Linked DNA regions of Homo sapiens: region 2 is linked to region 1. Evidence: promoter capture Hi-C in 16 types of primary human blood cells and fetal thymus (Javierre and others, 2016). All regions are on one chromosome and are shown on one strand. Each heading gives the region's core, a stretch centred on a gene start or on the middle of the fragment in contact. The rest is flanking DNA. Distances are from core to core; before and after follow the strand shown.

The links. Contacts are between HindIII fragments. The CHiCAGO score rates a contact against its expected background, and 5 or more counts as called.
Region 2: a contact is called between a fragment that was not itself captured here and the fragment with the promoter of CELF3 in region 1, in 2 of 17 cell types (erythroblasts and M1 macrophages). The highest score is 5.8, in erythroblasts.

What each region holds. Positions count from the first base shown.
Region 1 is chr1:151,713,817-151,720,992 of GRCh38, reverse strand. It overlaps CELF3 (CUGBP Elav-like family member 3), which reads left to right and starts at 4,190. Exons shown (of 13, transcript NM_007185.7): 1 at 4,190-5,117; 2 at 6,317-6,399. The coding sequence starts at 4,973. It also overlaps a transcript of RIIAD1 not described here. RefSeq lists an enhancer at 3,966-4,260. The HindIII fragment of the contact is 2,919 bases long and covers 3,305-6,223 here.
Region 2 is chr1:151,794,153-151,801,106 of GRCh38, reverse strand. LINGO4 (leucine rich repeat and Ig domain containing 4) reads left to right here. Exons shown (of 2, transcript NM_001004432.4): 2 at 1-843. The coding sequence ends at 184. It overlaps TDRKH-AS1 (TDRKH antisense RNA 1), which reads right to left. Exons shown (of 2, transcript NR_146292.1): 2 at 6,705-6,954. Among named protein-coding and RNA genes, the nearest start is that of TDRKH-AS1, 6.9 kb to the right of the region's middle. The HindIII fragment of the contact is 189 bases long and covers 2,904-3,092 here.

The DNA of each region.
Region 1 (7,176 bases), core at 2,941-5,440:
TGCCAGAATTTCCCCCTCTTGGACTGACTTTTTTGTGTAGATTAACTTTCTCTTCACCCTGGGCTCCTCATAAATTCTAAATTATTTTATTCCACTCCCAACTGAATACGGGAGGAGAAAGGGAATTTGGTCTTCAAGATTTGTTCTTCTAGTATCTAATTAAGAAGAGAAAGTGAAACATAAAGCCAGAGAGCTGAAAATAGCCACGAGAAAGGGCATGAGCCTGTCTGTCAATACACACATGCCGAGCTCCTACCCCCACAGAGATCGTGCTCAGCAGAGGCCTTCTGAGAAGCAGGAGAAAAAAGGGAGGCTGTCTTTTCAGATTTGTGAACAACTGCCCTAAGGAGCAAGAAAATACCATGAGAAACAAGCTCAGCATTAGGCCCTGGCCGTGGAGGGGTTATCATTGGTCTGCTTCTGTCCTTTCCAGCAAAGACTGAGGAAAAGAAGTGAAAGTGTTGGCAGTTCCCAAGCCAGGGAAAACCACAAGAAGTAAATTAGGTAGTGGGCTACAAGCCACTTCCCAGGAACCCCATCTTGGTTAGTGATCATTTTGGTTGATTGTCTTTTTTTAAGAGAGAGAGTTAATAGAGTGAGAGAGAGATAAGCTGCCATCTGTCAGAAGTGATTTTTTTTTTCCCGGCAGGAGCAAGAGGTTAACCAGAGATAATGGTTCCTCTTGGCCAAGATCTGTCTTTTCTCCCCATACTCCCTCCAGAGAAGCTGGTGGTGGCACCTCCAGAGCTGTGCCAGCCAGTACAGTCACCACAAGCCACCTGTGGCTCTTGAACACTTGAAAAGTGGCTGTAGGTGTTAAATGTGCAGCAAATATAAAATACACACAGGATTTTGAAGGCTTGGTATGAAAAAAATCTCATTAATAACATGTAATTGATTTACATGTTGAAATAGTATTTTGGATATATCAGGTTAAATAACATTTATTATTAAAAGTAATTTCTCTTGTTTCTTTTTGCTTTTATATATGGCTACTAGACATTTTTAAACCATATATGTGGCTTGTATTATATTAGACAATGCCAGAGCCTGGACCAGCAAACCTACACACTCAAACACACACAGGCATGCACAGTGTTCTCTACCTCCCCACCTCCAAGTAGGAAATGATTGATACCCTCCGTCTGCCAATCTGTGATCTTCTTGTGCTTTGATAATCAATCAAGCCTTTCTTCACTGATCACATCCTATGACCCAAATGCCCATGTATGAGAGGGGCTACTTTTTGTTTTTTTAACAGCGTCTCAGTACTCACTATTATGTATTGTGTTGGCCTGTCTTACCTTCCACTTGAGGTGGAAGCCACTTGAGGGCAGGAAGGTTATAGAATCAATTCTTTGTGCACTCTCATAAATTCTGCTGCAGATGTCTTCACTCTGTATTCAATCAGGGAAGCCAGTAAGTACTTCATGACTAGCCACTCTGCCCACACATACCACCACATTTTGCCCTTTCTGAAAAATATCCCAATTATCCAGCATTTCTCATTTCCTAAGAATCTAAAGCCAGGATCAGAGCTCTCCCTTTATAAATTCAATAATCTTTTTATGTAGGGCAGCCTAGCTTTGACTGCAGAGGAATAAAAAAGAGGGTGAGCTTGGGGGTGGTGGGCAGAGAAAGTATCCTGGAAGCCTCTCTCTCTCCTAGAGAGAAACTTTCCAGAATAGGCATCTGAGTCTCAGGGCTCCCCTGCCTTTACCTCACAGGACTCCCATCCCATGGCCTGAAAGAACACCAGAGATGTGTTCACCGTCACTCAGCAAGGAGAGTCTGATGAGTGGTACAACTCTTCTCCTCTAAACCCTGCCTCTTCTCTCAGACTGACACCTTTGGGGACCACAAACTAAGCAAAGGACTGGACGCATTTTGCTGTCTGCAGCTGTCTCCCCAATTACTGACTGGGAGGAGGAGTGAGGGGAGTTCATTTTAATTCATTTTTGTGAATGTTTAATATTTCAATTAATATGATTAGCCCCAAGCCTGAATGAGCAGCAGGGCGGCAGATCTGCTGAGAAGACATAGAGTAATGAGATCAACAGGGCCATAGGGTCTTCCCCTTCTCCATCCTCAGAGGACATGATCTGTTTAGCATCTCCATAAATACCAAGATCAGATTAGAAGGCAAGGAAAGGAGCAGTGGGGGTGGGGTAGGTGAGTGGAAAGTTACTTTCAAGATGTGTGTGCCCTTCTTGATTCCCTGGCTCTGCCGTCATTCGCTTCTTCTGAGCACCCACCACTGAGTCCTCTAGCACCTCCCCCCACTGCCACCCCATCTTAGGGGACCCTACTTGGGGGACCCGGGCATCCATGTGATGAAGTGTAATCAAGTCTACACACATACACATTCACTCAAATGCAAGCACCTGCCAGAGCGTGGCTCCAGGCCACAACAAAAAAACAGGCTAAGGAAGGATGGGAGGTGGTCCACAGAATCAAGCAGTAAAAAGAAAGACTCTCTCTCATCCAGGGCTTAAATGGAGACAGAAGAGGAAGAAAGGCCAGACTTCACCACTGCTCCCATTCTCAAGAGGAATGTTTGATGTGGGAGTTAAATGCGTGGACTCAGGAGCCAGACTGCCCAGGCTCCAGTCTCAGCTAGACCTCTTTCTAGCTGCATGGCTTTAGGCAAGTTATTTCAGCTCTGTGTCTTGGTTACCTCCTCTCTATTTGGAGATGACAAAATCTACATCATAGGGGGGTGGTGAGGGTTTAGGAGTTAGTAAATATAAAGCACTTGGCACAAAGCCTGGGACACTGTAAGAGCCATGTAAGCACTGGCTGTTACTATTATTTCCCTTCCAGAAGAGAAGCCTGCCTGCCGTGATAGCTCAGGAATGGAGGCCCCTGGGACTCAGCTGGGACACAGTTTAGAGACACGAGTGCCTCTGTGGAAACAGCAGCCCTACCCCGGGGGAGAAGAAGGGAATGACAGGAAGACAGGGTGCTCTACAAAAGCCCAGAGCCCCAGGAGAGCCCCCGTTGCTGAGCACTGACAGAAAGCAAGGGCTACCACCACTGACAAGGTTTGATGTCCACAGATAATCCCTGCACTGAGGGCGTGCTCTGAGTGGGCCCAGTGCATGGAGGGGTCACGCTCCCTCCAGATCGTGGAGCCTGCCAATCATCCATAGAAGTATCCATGGTCAGGGGAGCAATGGTCCCCGAATGTGCCTCCCCTGCTCTTCTGTGCTACCTGGCTCAATTTGAGTCCAACTCAAAGAACCCAACTGAAGAAAGAAGCAAAGGAAAGAGTAATTGGGTTTCTGCATCCTAAGGGGAAGCTTGACAGCTGTGGTTCTTCCCACTGAAGGAATCAGGAATCCACTGTTGTCAGAGGTTGTTTGCATGGAGTGTTTGTTAAGCTCCTGCTACGCATGAGCAAGACAGGGTGCTAGACACTGTGAACAGTAAGATGCTGAATTAAACGGTGTCCTGGTCTTCAAGGAGCTTACAAGTGAGAGCGCCCGCGGCGCCGCCTCCGCGGCCTCCCTGCCCACGCACTTATACACACAAACCCCCCAGAGGGAGAGAAGGGGGCATCGGCAAATGCCAGAAAGCTATCGTTTTTCTTGGTTCCTTTTCTGGAAAATATACAGTTCTCTTTCTGCATTCTTCTCATCCTGCTCCTCCTTCTCCACGTCCCTTTCCATTTTTCCTCTCTGCATTTTTTCTTTTTCCCCCAGACTCTGCGACCTGCTTCCCTCTCCATCTATATCTCCTTTCCCTTCAGCCTATGCAACCGTCCTTTCTCATTTTTCTTTCCCCTGATTTCTTTCCTTGACTCTCTACTCTTGGGGCTCCCCAGATGCCGGGCTCCCCTCTTTCCCCGCCACCCCCCATCTGCTGAGTCTTCCAGCACCGGGGACAGCTCCAGCCCCCGGAACAATGGACCCCACTTTAGGGTTCCTCTATAAATTCTCCATCTTAGTGCTTTGCCCAACTCCTGACTGGGGAGTAAGATGGGGGAAGGGTTATTATCAACAGGACCAGCTGCTCTTCTGGGGGCGGGAAGGGAGTCAGGGAGGATGGAGATAGAAAGAGGGCGTGGCTCGTGCCTGGATTGTGCGTCCCTCTCCAGGGTAGAGAATTTGTATTCGACCCCTGAGACTGACATCACTGATGTCAGGGGAAAGGAGGTGGGAGTGGGGAGGGGGGTGTGGAGGGGGGAGGTTTTTGTTGAGGAGAGCGCGGCCGGAGAGCAGAGCTCCGGGACCCAGGTGACCGGGAAAGCAGGCAGCCCCAGCGGCGGGAGCAGCCGGCAGCAGCCCAGGCCCGGGGACTGGGGTGGGGGTGGGAGGGGGGCTGAGGGGAGGACCTGAAGGGGGGCGGCAGGGCAAAAGGGACCCCTGGAGCCCTGCCGCCATCAGAGATCAAGCATCTGGCATCAGGGATCTTCGGACCCAGCAGAAGGATCCGCCACAGGGGAGGTGTCCTCCCAGGGAAGCCAACGAGAGATTCACCTGCCCCACATCAGGAGTGGGCCCCCCTTACTGACGCTGCTGGCAACCATAGCAGGCCCCTTAACCCCTCAGTCTCCTCCCCATCACCCTCCTCAGGCCCTTTCCCCGCCTCCAGCTCTCATCTCAACTCCCAGTTCCCAGCCCTCTAAGCCCTAGCACCCCCGGCTACCACCTAACCCTCCAGGTCTTGGCCATACTCACCCCCATCCTGGGACATTTGCCAGATCTCTGGGAGGGAGATCGTTTGTTTAGGCGATGCCCCCTGGTGGCATGACAGCGTCTGCCTAGACCCCTGACCCCTAGCACTCAACTCCCTGGGCCTCCTTTGTGTGAAGAGCCGCCCCTCTGCTTAGCAGCGTGGTTGGGGGCCAAAGGGAAAGCCAGCCCCAGCTGGGCCCCCGGGCCCCACCACTTATCTCCTTGCTGGGCAGCTCCCCTTGGCCTTTGGGCCTCTCCCTGCTCCCCTCGGCCCCTCCTCCTGGGCCGCCTCAATGAAGGAGCCGGATGCCATCAAGCTGTTTGTGGGGCAGATCCCGAGGCATCTGGAGGAGAAGGACCTGAAGCCCATCTTCGAACAGTTTGGTCGGATCTTTGAGCTGACTGTCATCAAGGACAAGTACACCGGGCTGCACAAGGGTGAGGGGTCGGGCAGGCTGAAGAGGCTTCGGGGTGGGCTGGGAGGCTGGGGGAAGTTAAGCCAGGCTGGAGGGGTGGAGCGGCTGGGAAGGGCTGATGTGGAAGGAGAAGAGTTCAGGCCTGAGGAAAGTGGATGGAGGAGCTGAAAAAGAACTCAGCTAGAGTGATCAGGAAACCCCGGTGAAGGACTAAGGAGGGCCTCTTTTGGCTGAAGAGTTGTCAAGACGGCTGCAAAGATGTGGATCCCAGACATATGGGTGTGTTGATGTCATGGGATGAACTCAAGAAAGAATGGAGGGACAAGAGAGCTGGTTTGGGAGATAAGCAGCTGGGTAGGGGTGTGTGTGTGTGTGCGTGTGCAGCAAGACTGAGAATCTGAGCAGCCTCAGATAATATTGGGATGGGGGTCAGGACACAGGGTCAGGTGTTCAATGTGGAAAGCGTGGAGCTGGACTGGGCAGGGCAGCTCCAGGACTAAAGAGAGGGACTAGGAAGCAGGGCATGAAGGCTGGAGATTGGTAAAGATCTGGAAAGTGTGGGAGGCTTAGAAAGTTAAGAGAGTGGGGGAGAAGGGAGGGTGCTCCTCAGGCCTATCCAAGGGCTGTGCGGCTAAGTGGGGGCGGTCAGGGTCAGCACTTGGAGAGCTCCACACACCGGGGATCCCAGGGGCCACACCAGCTCCCCCTCCACCTGGCACAGGGAAGAGGCACTTCCGGCTAACTAACTGTTCTTCCCTTCCCTTCTCTATTTCACTCTCCGTCCTCCACCTGCCTATGGTGGAGGTGGGGAGAGATGAGGAAATAGGGAAAATGGGAGAAGAGAGGGATGATGGTGATCAAGATGGAGGGAGGTGGAGGTGAGGGAGAGAGGGGAAAGGAGAACAGCTCAGCAGGAGAGAAAGCCACACTACTCTTACTTGTCTGGCGGTCACATGGTCCTTCTCTCCCTACACAAAGCCCATCTCCTGACAGCCCAAGTGTCCTCCCTCTCCCATCACCACCAGTATTTAGGCCTCCAGGTGTCTGCCCCACTTCTGGGGCAGAGAGTCTACCCCTTGGAGACACCTCTCTACCCCAGCAGGCAGAAGATGACAAGAAGGGAAAGCTTCCCAGTCGTCAGTCTTTGGAAGGGAGCCTTTCAGAGAGGGGAGATGGAGGACTCACCCCCCGCCGTGTTTCTCTGCCCCTGCCCCTCCTCAGGATGTGCCTTCCTGACATACTGTGCCCGGGATTCAGCCCTGAAGGCCCAGAGCGCCCTGCACGAACAGAAGACGCTTCCAGGGGTGAGTCCTGCCCTTTGCAGGGCCAGGGGACTGAGAAGGGCCATAGAAGTGGCAGGAGGCTCACCACCCTCCTGACACTGAGCATAATTTCCACCTCCTCTCATCACCAGGAAGTCCCCCTCTCTCTCTGTAGCATCCATCTTTCTTGCTGTAGATGCATGCATTTCTTGTTACCTGGAGAGAAGGAAAGCAGCGATTAGTGGCGTAAACATGACTTTTACCAGGAGCAGATGCAGCCCCTTCCCCACTTCCCAAGCTGCCCATGGGGCAACACTAGAGGGAGGACTCGCTGGTTGGAAGGTGTGGGGAAAAGTCTCTGGACACCAAGTGTGGATCAGGGTGAGCAGGGGGCACCCAGGCACTCTTTTGTCACTCTGGAAAGGCAGGCTGGGTGGCTGTGAGATGAGGGAGGAGTGCCCAGAGAACAGGCAGCTGGTGCCGGCTAGATTGGCATCTCGGTGCTGGTTCTTGAGCTCTCATCTCCCTTCTGTCTCCCAGGAAGAGTCCCAGGAACAGAGCCACAGAGCATCAGGGTAGAGCAGGGCCTGGGCAGGCCTGGGCAGGTCTGGGCTGGAGGTAGGCCTGGAAGTAGCAGGCAAGGGCAGGGACAGACATTGTAGAGGATCAGGCCTGATGCCACCAGGTATGCCCAGGGAGGCAGGGGTGGCCTCAGAGGTGGCCCCTCTCCTGCAAGGTCCTATCTCTTTGTGTCTTCTTCCCAGCCAGCCTTGCTGATTGTCCCAAGCCCTTCCATGGCCTCAACCTTTGAGTACTGCT
Region 2 (6,954 bases), core at 1,749-4,248, 81 kb before region 1:
CATGGTGCTGGCAGTCGGCTTCCTCCCCTTCCTCACCTCAGTGACCCTCTGCTTTGGCCTGATTGCCCTTTGGAGCAAGGGCAAAGGTCGGGTCAAACATCACATGACCTTTGACTTTGTGGCACCTCGGCCCTCTGGGGATAAAAACTCTGGGGGTAACCGGGTCACTGCCAAGCTCTTCTGACCTTTCCTTCCCCAGTGGGGAACCCACCAAGTCCGCTTCAGATACCAAAGGGGAAGACAGAACCAAGGCTGCTTGAACCAGAACCTAGTCCCGAGCAGCACCGCTCTCCTGCACCTCCCGCCTGCGTTGTGCCTCCTGCCGGAGAGTCTGCTTCCTGAGCTTTTCCGGTCTGAGGATAGCATTGTCATTTCTTCTCTGAGGGTCCCAGGGAGCTGCAGATGCAGACCCCGTCGTTAGTCCAGCCCCTGCTTCACCCCCTCCACACACAAAACAGGAAACATAATCAAAGCGCTAGTCAGCTAGTCTAACCACTAGGCTTTCTTCACACATGCTTATATCCTTTAATAACCAATTGCCAACCACGGCTATAAGATTATTTCAGAGGTGGGGCTGGGAAGTGCCACTTGCTCCTTAGAGTCTGTTTGTCAACCAGGCAGAGTCCCTTTCTTTTCTGCTCCCCACCCCAACCCTGCCCCTATGTACAGGAATAAGAGCAAAGGACCCACAGGCTACAGAGAAGAGGATGGGGACAGAGTGTGGGATGGAGAGGACAGACCATATACTGCACTGTGTTTGCATGAGCCTCTACCACCTTCCTCTATCTACCAGATCATTAAACCTGCTGTCAAAGGGCCACAACAGTAGCAGCCAAAACTAAATGTCATCTCTGGAGTTTTCTTTACTTCAGTCTATTTCCTACCCTCATTTCTGTTATATCTCCCCAGCTCCTTCTCTTTCTGCTTGCCCATTGATTATGTGTCCCAATGGCATTGCCTCCATCTAACCTGCCTGACAAACAGGGTAAGGAGTGCCCCTCCCACCTTCACTTTCCTCACCGCCCTGCACCCCCACCTCCATGCCCGGAGGGATCAGCACTCCTAGCCCCGGTTTCAGCCTCAATCCTTTCCCTTTCACTCCCCATCTCTGGAACTGGAGAAGGAGCGATCCTCTACCTTCCAGGGGACCCCTACATAGAAATTCCACCTGGGACACCCAGTTGCTGCCTCTCTTTCCCATTTCTCCATGGGAGCTCCTCATCATTTTTGCGTCACAGATCCCTAGTGCCCTTGGGGAAAACTCAGAACTCCAAGATAATGACTAACAAACACAAGAATCCGCAGTTGTCAAAGGAGAGAGACCCAGGACACTGCAGAGACTAGGCTTGGAGGAACAGGGAGGAGGGCACAGCAGGCTGTAGTGAGAAGTGGAGGGAAGGGGGAACAGCAGTAACTGCCTGCCTAGTTAATTTCCACCATCCTTCTGCAGCTTCCTCTGGTTCTGTGCTTAGTGCAGCCCCAGTGGGAAGCTGTCTCCGGGTAGAGGTCACTGATTTACAGAGACCCCCAGATGGGGAGGTGGAGTAGGAGGTGAAACTGCTGAGTACCACTGACTGTGCTTCAAATAGAGGGCAAAGCAGAGCCCAAAAAGAAGTAGAGATGCTGGAAGCTCAAGGAACAGAGCAACAGCCTCAGCATCACTGGAAGGGAGGAGTGACAGGGAGAGGAGAGGAGTCGGAGGAGGGACTGAGAAGGGAAGAATCACGTGGCCCTAGGGAGCCTTTCTGCGCAGTAGCATCTACCCAGCGTCCTTAGTTTCCTCCCACCCACCCCTACACCAAACCAGATGCAAGCATTGTGAGCTTTCTAGTTGATTCCTGCTGCTGTTGTCCTTGCTCTGAGGAGACTCCACTCATTAGAAGATTCCCAGCTCAAACTGCCCGACAGATGAGACACTCAGAGCCACTGAGGAGGTGAAGCTGGACTTCACAGGCAGGCCGCTCTTTAGTGGGGCAGAGATAGGAATATGGGGGTAGTACCAGAGGTGAATGTGAGAACCAGGCAGACAGGAGAGTGGGGCTGGAGAAACTGACCTGCTTGAGAAACGAGTTTCCCTGAGCCTGCAACCTCCCCACCCACCATGCACACACAACTCAATCAGCATCCCAGCAACTTCCCCTTCTTTAGTGTATAATGTACCAGACAGATTTCCTGGGGCACAGCCCTCCCGCTCCTTTCCATAACCTTCCACCAGCAGCTTATTAGGTTGGGACTTGGGAGTCAGACGCTGAAGGTTCTCACTCTAGTTGCCCTCTCTGCAATGCGGAAGCAGCAATGCTGTTCAGAGAAATCTTCTCTGGGAAGCCCCTGACGCTCTGGGGAACAGATGACTGTCTGGTGCTGGGACATGCTGCTGCCCAAGGTCTCTGAAGTCTCAAAGTCTCCAGAGCAGAGCTACCCAACAGACACAGAATCTAAGTCACACATGTAATTTCAAATTTTCTAGTAGCTACTAAATTAAAAAATCAAAATGAAACGGATACATTTAAATACTTACTTTATTTAACCCAATATACCCAAACTATTATCATTTCAATATATTATCAATATAAAAATCAATCATAAAATATTTAACATTTTTTCATATTAGGTCTTTAAAATCCAGTGTATATTTTACACTTACAGTACATCTCAACATCGCAATTCAGTTACTAAATTTTCACCAGAAAAATCTATATTTCATACAGGTCACTGTTGAGAAAGTGGATTCACACATCTAAGTTTTTTCAAACATAAAACATTTTCCAATAACTGAATCGAATCTCTGTCTTAAATTTTAAATTAAACAAATTTAAAATTCCATTCCTCAGCTGTACCACCTACCTTTACAAGCATTCAATAGCCACATGTGGCCAATGGCTACCATATTGGACAGCAAAGCTTCAGACATTGCAACCTGGCGTATAGACTAAGGTCTCCTTGGCAGTGGTGGGTGGACAAAGTATCCCTCAAGAAACACATTTAATCTCAAGGAAATGCCTATGGAGTTAGTCCCACCACAGCCCCTTAGTCTCCTTTCACAGCTTTACCAGAACACTTTTGAGGGGTGAAGCCCATTCAGGAAACAAGCTTACTATGATGAGCACTTCCACAGCTTGTCCAAGCGTTAGCATGCCAGTCCCTCATCTTACCTGTCGGGAAGACTGCCCTCAGCTCAGCTGTGATGGCACAGGCTGCTGTGTGTGTGCTGATGAGTGTGCAAATGCAGCCAAGGACATGAGTGGGTGGTGTGTATGCAGAAGTTTTGTGGCCCATGTGCAGGGATGTATGGTACCACATCATGGGGACAATCTAATGGAGGCTCTGCCCAGGGTGGGACAGCAGTTCAAAGAGAAGAAAATAACATTTATTGAGGGCCTATTCTATGTCAGTGGCTTTATATATATTTTCTTATTTAATCCTTACATCAACCCTATAAAGTAGAGAGGCATCTTAGCTGGTGAAACTAAAGGTCAAAGAGAGTAAGTGCTCAAGTGCACAGAGCTAGTTAGTAAATAGTAACTAGCTATTTGAGCTCATGGCTGTCTGATTGAAAACTCCCCCTTTCCACCACACTGCCATCCTCACTGCCATGCCCTCACGGCTCTCTCTCCCAGGGCCTTTCAGTTGCAGGACACGACCTGTAAGAAAGGAGAAATCTTCCAATGCATCCACTCTGAACTTTCAGTGGGGACTGGGCTAAGTTATTGGTCCTTACATTCTTCATTAACTCTAATGCACCTGATTCAGGATGTTGGGGTTTTTCTTTGTTTTTACTCTTTCTTCTCAGTCCCCTCTCCCAATGTCCTTACAGCCTCTGCCTCAGGGACTGATAGAAAGGAGCAGAAATTCCAGGGAGTAAATGGACTTCAGTGAAATGCCTGGCTTCCAGCAAAGGATTCTCTGAAATGGAGGCTTCACATTTCCTAGTTCTTTTCTGGGTTCTAACCTCAACAACCTCCTAGGTTAGAGAGAGGTTGCACAGATTGGTGGAACAATCTGTGAGCTACTTCAGATTGGAGAAGAATTTGACTCTGCCTACCTTCTGCCTACCCCTGCTTGACAGAACCTTTCTGAGGACATTCCATCCTGCTCTCCTTCTACCCCTCTCTCTTCCATCTCAGACATGGTCTTACCTAAGCTGAGAGAGAACTCTGGACCCAAAGATGCTGTGGCACCATCTCAGCACTTCACATTTCCTTCCCCCATACAATCTTTCTCTATTTCTGACTTCTATTTCCTGTGCTGTGCTGGATCCCTGATTCAGGAGATGAGAGCCCGGCTAAGCAATGATCCTCAACTTTTTTTGAGTCACAGATCCCTCTGAGAATCCCTGATGCAAGCTGTGAACAAAAATGTTTGTAAATTATCCAGTTATTCTGAAGCCATCACAGACTCCATAGAATATAGGTTAAAAATTCTGCTATAAGAAGCCACAGGTTGCAGCAGAAACTGAGGCCTCAGGCCACCTTTGCTCCCCAGGGTCCATTAGAGGCAAAGAGAAAAGGCTGAGAAGGACTACCGTTCAAAGTGGATGTTAGCACAGGTAAGAGCAGGTATTACAATGGGCCCAGCAAGAAAACACACAAAAATGCTCCATCATTCTCTCCTCCCCTGTCCCCTTCTCCCACCAGCACCCATCTGAGGGAGAGGCAAGAGACTTTGGGTGGAACTCTTGCTGTAAGAAGTCAGTACGGTGGTGACTCAGGCTGGAGAGTATCTGAAAACAGGGACTCCTGGGTCCTGTTCCTCCAAATTGCTTCGTAAGGGGAATTAAGTAGGAAGATAGAGCTGGGTGGTGGTGGTCAGAGAGGCTGAGGAGAATTCTTTCCTAGGGCATCTGCCACAATTAAATCTGGCCTAAAGATTGAATAGTAGCACCAGCATAAGTGAGGACACTAAGGCTCTGCTCCCAGTCGCTGGTTTCTGGTGAAGAGGCTTAAGTGGGGAGGAGGGGGTGACTCCTACGATGGGCAACAGGAGAGATGAGTGCTGTTTTTCAGACTCAGACAGCTGAACAGCACTTGAATGAATCATTCGTATGTTGTACAGGGAAGGAACTCTGTGGGCAGCCAAGGCTCCGGAGCCAGGCTCCTTGTATTTCAGAGCCCCTCACTGCCCAGATCCCTAGCTAAGATCTTCTTTCCTGCTTCAGTTTACTAAAGGGAACACCTGCTCACTGAACCCTCTGGGAAACCCAGAACTTATCTTAACTCACTCCACCTAATGCCTCCCACAGCCTGTTCAGAACACCCTTCAGGGAAAGAGAATAGACTCTTAGGACTGGAGATGAGAATAAAGAAATTACAATTCACTCAATCCCAGCATCTCACAATTCAATCTTTCAATCCTGATTTGGGATCTGAGAGGAGAAATGAGATGACAAATCCCAAATGTACAGTGACTTGAGGGTGAGTTTGGCATCAGCTCACTCGAAGTTATTTCTTCTGCTCCCCAACCTCCCTACCCAGCAAGTTAGAATTCAATCTGATTTTAAAATAAGATCAAATAAATCTCATTTTAAAATAAGATCATAGTGGCTCACACCTGTAATCCCAGCACTTTGGGATGCTGAGGCAGGTGGATCACCTGAGATCAGGAGTTCAAGATCAGCCTGGGCAACATGGTGAGACCCCATCTCTACTAAAAATACAAAAATTAGCCGGGTGTGGTGGTGTGCACCTATAATCCCAGCTATTCGGGAGGCTGAGGCAGGAAGATCATTTGAACCCGGGAGGCAGAGGTTGCAGTGAGCCAAGATCGTGCCACTGCACTCCAGCCTGGATGATAGAGTGAGACTCCATCTCAAAAAAAAAAAAAAAAAATCCGGGAAAAGTGATGCCACCTGGCTTTTCACTGCTCTGATTAAGAAATTCCTCCTGTGAGGCTGAGCACACTGACTCACTCCTGTAATCCCAGCACTTTGGGAGGCTAAGGCAGGTGGATGCCTTGAGCCCAGGAGCTGGAGACCAGCCTGGGCAACATGGTGAAACCCCATCTCTGCTAAAAAGACAAAAATTAGCCGGGTGTGGTGGTGCATGTCTGTAGTCTCAGCTACTTGGGAGGCTGAGGCAGGAGGATCGCTTGAGCCCGGGAGGTGGAGGTTGCAGTGAGTAGAGATCATGCCATTGCCCCAAGCCTGGGCAACAGAGCAAGACTCTGTCTTAAAAAAGAAATAAATTCCTCTTGTGGTTTAACTATAAAGTGTAACCCCCTTTTTGGACTTCATTTCCTCTTTTTTGCCCATCCCACCTTCACTGGAGCTAGAAGAAGATGGACCCATAAAGTAGGTCTGTATTTTTATAGCAACACTGGACACATTCTTCCTTGGATTTGAACTACCATTTTACTTTTTTTAAAGTAAAAATAGCTATAGCAATCAAGGCACTCAATACCTAGGAATAATTTTAATAAGAAGTATGTAAATTCTACATAATGAAAACTAAAATTCTACTGATGGGGTACCAATGACTTGAATGTATAGGAAGATAGGAAGATTCTTATCATACATTCTCCTTTAGATAATCTAAAAATATGTGATTCCAGCCAAAATAACAGTAACAGAATAGAAGAGTAAATTATGGTTCAATATAGCCTCACAATATTATACCACACAGTAGTCAGAATGAAGGGACTAAAACTATACACAATATGGCTGAATCTCACAGAAATAATTTGAACAAAGGAAGCCAGACACAAAAGAGTACATACTCTGTGATTCTCTTTATATAAAAAGCAAGAACAGGCAAAATTAGTTTATGGTATCAGGAGTCAGAAGAGTGGTTGTCCTTGAGAAGAGCAGTGACTGAGAGGGAACACACAAGTGGCTTCTGGGGCACTAGCAATGTTCTGTTTCTTGATCTGCTGCTGGTTACACAAATGTATTCCATTTGTGAAAATTCATCAAGATATATACTTGTCATTTGTGCATTTTTCTGCATGTATATTATAAAT